Linked DNA regions of Homo sapiens: region 2 is linked to region 1. Evidence: promoter capture Hi-C in 16 types of primary human blood cells and fetal thymus (Javierre and others, 2016). All regions are on one chromosome and are shown on one strand. Each heading gives the region's core, a stretch centred on a gene start or on the middle of the fragment in contact. The rest is flanking DNA. Distances are from core to core; before and after follow the strand shown.

Region 1 (2,924 bases), core at 179-2,678:
AATCTGGGTGGAAAGAAGCCAAGGCTCAAATTCTTTGTCTTTTCAGCAATGAATAGGAAAAATTCAACTTTTGAGTGTTATCTCAGCAGTTACTTTCACTCAGTTTTGCCCCTTCGGCCCTAAAATGAATGAGACGTTTTCAAAGCAGATGGCAGTGAGTCAAGCAGAAACGTGGAATATAAGTACATCCCCACTTCCACGAAGTCCCGAAGCTTGATTACAGCACTCTCATGGGCCATGTAAACAGGGGACCAGAAACTGAGCAGAAGACAGATTTAAGCCGGGGCGGGGGGCGGGGGGGAGGGAATTGTAAGACTAGGACAGGGTGAGCGCCACATGTGGCTTTAATATCCAACAGCTGCTAGAGATCATCACCCCGCTGCTCTCTCTGTACCCCTACACCAGAATCCTCTGTCTCAAAGACCATAACTAAAGCGGCCACTGCCATGTTATCTGAGTAACGAACTCAAGCTCGAGCACATTCAAGGATTTTTTTTAACTTAGTGTACCTGGATGTAGCCGACTGGACCTTTAATCACAAAACCAAAGCTTTAAAACAAAGTCTCCAGGAAAGAACAAGAAGGAAAATCAATTACACAGTGCACTTGAGCAGACTGGGGAGGCGGGTAAAAGAAAAGTGAGGGAAGATAGGGCAGCCGGGATTCCCTGGACTGGAGCTCTCTTCTCTAGAGCTAACTTTTCAGACCTGGAGGTCTCCAAGGCCCCCGCAACTCAGTGAGTCTCGGGGCACCAACAAATCCCCGCGGGGGTCACCGCGCCCGCGAACGCAGAGTCCACACGTGGATTCCCGCGCCTGTGATGCCCCGACCCGTCCCGGGTCCCCGCACAGACAATGCCGCGCGTCCTTCCCGCAGCCACTCCGGGACCCGCGCCCCGCGCCGCCCGGACGTCCCCCTGCGTCTGCCGGGGACACTCACCGACACCAGGAACTCCAGCGTGCCCACATAGTCCCGCTCGGTCTTCTGGAGCTCGCTGAGCACGCACACGCGCAGGCGAAGCTGCTTCTCCAGGTCCTTGGCGCTCTCGGCGCGGCTGTCTCCGCGGCTGTCCTCGCTCATGGTCGGCGGCGGTGCGCAGCGCGGCGCTGCCCGCCGTGCTGAGCGCTGACCCGCGCGCCCGCTGCTGCCCGGCCCCCGGCGGCGAGAATGGAAAGTTGCCGCCTCCGCCAACTCCGAGGAGAGACAGAAGACTTTACATGCTGGGGAGAGGCTGGGCGCAGGGAGAGGAGGGGATCGGGCTGAAATCCCGGCGCGGGGGGCGCGGGGCTCTGCAGAGGAAACTCCTGGGAGTGGGGGCTCCGGCCAGGCCCTGCGCGCCCGGCCCCGCTGCTCTGGCCTCACACGGCCGGGGCTGGAGGGGAAGCGGCTTCGGCAGCCACAGCAGTGACTTGGACATTAATCAAAAGCTTTGTATCCATGTGACTCCGACCCTTTACCCTTCGCCAAATCTCAGGAAAAAGGAAACACAACCCTGGGGAAGTACTGCGTACTGGCTAATCACACACACGCGCGCGCGCGCACACACACACACACACGCACACACACACACACACACACACACAGCAGCACTTGATATGGAACTCACAGGAGGTTCCCAATCCCAGGGACACACACTCCAAGGCGCAGCTCGAGGGTTACTCCTAAGCCTCCGCTATTGTTTAACTTTAATGTGTTTCGTACAAATCCTGAAAGCAAAGAAACAAGTCCCCACGGTTACATAACTGGATGGGAACAAAAACAACCACGGTATTGACCCTCCCTCTTTGAAAAGAAACACATTGATTTTTTGTTTCATTCAGGCACAAAACAGGTTTGCTTTTAAAACCCTCCAACTGAGAATAGTTCACAGGGCAGACACCCTCCAGTCTGAGCTTGGAAAGTCAATTAGCATAATAAATGAAGACACTATGGGAAAATGACAGCCTCTGCCCATGCAATAAACCCCAGATAAAATAAGCATCACCCTTGTACTGTGCTGTTTTCCATGTCTACAACTTTTTTCAACATCAAGATAGTATGTAAATCCATTGAGAGGCGAGGGTATTTGTGCCAGTTTTGTTTCTAAGAGCTGCTGTGATTTAAGACGGTGTCACTAATTGAAAAGATAAAGCTGTTGTTGAATGCTCATCAGAAGATAGAAAGCTAGATAGATAACGGAAATAATCTTAGATTTTTGAAGATAGACACACAGAACATTCTTGATTTTAAAGTTAAAGTTTATTGCCTTTTCTCACTTGGAAACTAAGCCTTAAATATTTCCAATACATTTAACAAACAAAACAATTTATATATTTTTTTGAATTGGTATTATACACATATATTTTCCACAGATCAACTTCAGTCTAAAACTAATGGCATTTAAATAAACTGAAGAGTGAATAGAGTTGTTGCAAGAAAGTGGTATGTTAATTTGTTGCAGTCACTGAAAGCATTAGCAAAACTCTAAAACATAAAGATGCTTTTCACTATATTTACATTAAAATAATTACCTATTGGTTTTCCAGATGATGTCTTTCCAGAGCATAGTGTGACCATTCCCCTCTGTAACCACACAAAGAAGGATTGTACTTTCTTTGTATATTAAAGATAAAATTTTCGAATGATGTACACAAAGCTGATGGGCAAGATGTGATTTTCCTCTTTCTTTTACAAATGACTATTTAGAGGTAGCCAAGAGCAAAGGGCAAACAACATAGATGGCTTCACACCCTGTGGCAGAAGAACAAAGGGCAAAGCATATTAAAGAGCAGACCTCACAGCACCTAGTAAACAATAAACAAAAGAAGCGGAAGACATAGGAAGCACACATCCAGAAATGAATGGGAAATGCAAGCATGACTGAACCTTCTCCCCATGTACTACAGGCAGCATTTCTTCCTCCCCAGGTCTGCACCTTTCCCTAGG
Region 2 (2,700 bases), core at 199-2,698, 530 kb before region 1:
TGAACCTCAGTAGAAAGAGTGAGTTACAGGGTTCAGATCCCCTGCCTGCCTCGGGTATAGATGTGGAGGGTATAAATGATATTTCATTAGTTCTTATATCATCTCCCACACCACTAACCTAATGAATCAATTATACACAAAGCTGAAAAAGTACGCACAACTTCATCTCAGTAAATGACACCATTGTAGATCCCCTTGTAGATGACACTAGAAACACAGGTACATTTGGGGCTTATTCTTCAATATTTTATAAAATTCTTTTTTTGGTAGAAGTCATTGGTAACTAAGAATTTTTATGTGTCACATCAAAAGAGAGTCTAACTACCATTTCAGGGATTTGGGGTGACCAAAGCTTAACAATTATTCAAGGACTTGCTGTATTATGAAGGTAGTGCCTTCAAACAGTTAAAGGAGAAAAAGCTTTAAGGAGGGCTGGCATTGGAGCTGGGCTGTATCACTGCTGAGTGAACCGTGATGGAGAACTCAGATATGACAGCACCACAGTCAAGGGGAAGATGTGAGACTAAGAGATCTCAGAGTGCAATTATAAACATTTGTGAAGACCTAACATAAATCATACATTTGTGGAATTTTTGGGCTTAAAAAATATAGAGAATTACAAATGGTCATTTAGAATAACTCAGATGTTAAGAAAAGATAGGACATTTATGGGATACTAAATGGCTTATGTCACATTCTATAGATTTAAAATACATTATTACAATTTATAAAAATCCAAACATGTCTTTTAAATGCTTATATTTACATGTAATATAATTCTACAAAAAAAGTTCCTTTCCAATATGAATTCAAGATTAAGACTGAATATCTTAAATATAAAATTTTAAAGAGCTTAGTCTATTTTAAGAGAGCATAGATAATATGAAACAGAATTCTGTTTCTCACCCAAAGTCATAAAGCTTAGATATCTGAAATTAAATAATCCATAATTCAATTATTTGGGATTTTTTAAACTCTCTTAACCTCTTGATTTATTTTTATTTATTTATTTATTTATTTATTTATTTTTTATTTTTTTTTGAGACAGAGTCTTGCCTTGTCTCCTAGGCTGGAGTACAATGGCTGGATCTCGGCTCACTGCAACCCCCACCTCCTGGGTTCAAACGATTCTCCTGCCTCAGCCTCATGAGTAGCTGGGATTACAGGCACCCGCCACCATGCCCAGCTAATTTTTGTATTTTTAGTAGAGACGGGGTTTCACCATGTTGACCAGGCTGGTCTCAAACTCCTGACCTCGTGATCCGCCTGCCTGGGCCTCCCAAAGTGCTGGGATTATAGCGGTGAGTCACTGCACCTGGCCCGATCTCTTAATTTTTTTTTTAACTTCCTGCATCATGCTCTCGGGCTTACAAAACGAGTTTTCTCATTTAACTTTTAGAAAGCTACCAGTTGATCTTTAAGTTTCTTTTAGGCCTCATATTTATGAATCCATTATTCATAAAGATAGTGGCAATATATCACTGTTCCAGAAAGAAGCAAGAACTGGCAAGTAAGTAAAAAAGCCCTGTGAATAGTCAAAATGTGTGTCACACAGAACTGGCACATTACTCATGGGCTACCTCCTCTCAATTTTAGCAAACATATGAGCTGTTTTTCAGGGCTGGAAAATTTTAGCAGTTGAAAATGGAGATGAAGAGAAACATTGCTTTGAAGATGTATTTCAGTACTAAGAAGTAATGGACCCCAGAATACAACTCAAACTAGCTAAATGGAAAACTTGGTTTGGAGAAAGAATTATGCCTTTAATTATGCCAACTCTTTGGTCTGACCATATTTTGTTCAAATACTTATTATCATATTTTCTTAAAATTTACATATTTTGATGACTTTGCCTGAGAAATTATCCAAATAAATCTCCACTCTATTATCTGTAATTCTTTCAGCTTTCTATTATCAATGTCAAATTGCCTAGGGCATTTTTTTTAACTTCTTATTTCATTTTTAATCAAAGCTTATACAGATTAAAAGCAGATGAAAGAATTTTAATGAAACGCTTCACAGAGGCATGAAGCTCTAATGGGAACCATTTATACTGAGTGGCCAGGATATCTCTCCCAGTGTCTAGCAGAATATCCACAGCTATTCCCTGAGAAGAGATTAACAACTTTTAGGCATTTTATTAACTTTTAAAAGGTATCATATTTTAAATTGAGACTCTTTTTTAAGTTAATGAAGACTGGGGATCTTCAGAAAACAGAAAATATGCAAGAGAAAATGAAGTGGGTTGCGAAGATATGTTGGAAGAAAGAAAAGCCCAGGACTTGAGGGTAGGACTCTTAATGAGCACTGGAACACATGGTCCTTGTAAAAGTCAAACTAGAGCTTAAAGGAAATATCCTATCAGGGTGATATAGTTTGGATTTGTGTCCTGCCCAAATCTCATGTTGAATTGTAATCCCCAATGTTAGAGGTGAGGGCTGGTGGGAGGTGACTGGATCATGGGGGTGGATTTCTCATGAATGGTCCAGTACCATGTCTTTGTTGCCGCTCTCATGATAGTGAGTGAGTTCTCAAATGATGTGGTCCTTTGAAAATGTATAGAAAATGTGTAGCACCTTCCCCAACCTTGCTCTTGCTTTTGCTTTCGCCATTTGACTGCTAGTTCCTGCTTGGCCTTGTGCCATGATTGTAAGCCTCCAGAGGCCTCCCCAAAGGCAGATGCTGGTTTTATGCTTCCTG

Evidence for each region. Contacts are between HindIII fragments. The CHiCAGO score rates a contact against its expected background, and 5 or more counts as called.
Region 2: a contact is called between a fragment that was not itself captured here and the fragment with the promoter of PREX2 in region 1, in 1 of 17 cell types (M2 macrophages). The highest score is 5.4, in M2 macrophages.

The regions. Positions count from the first base shown.
Region 1 is chr8:67,950,550-67,953,473 of GRCh38, reverse strand. PREX2 (phosphatidylinositol-3,4,5-trisphosphate dependent Rac exchange factor 2) reads right to left here and starts at 1,428. Exons shown (of 40, transcript NM_024870.4): 1 at 939-1,428. The coding sequence starts at 1,079. The HindIII fragment of the contact is 877 bases long and covers 552-1,428 here.
Region 2 is chr8:68,484,053-68,486,752 of GRCh38, reverse strand. All of the region lies in intron 4 of C8orf34 (chromosome 8 open reading frame 34), which reads right to left. Among named protein-coding and RNA genes, the nearest start is that of C8orf34-AS1, 150 kb to the right of the region's middle. The HindIII fragment of the contact is 1,052 bases long and covers 923-1,974 here.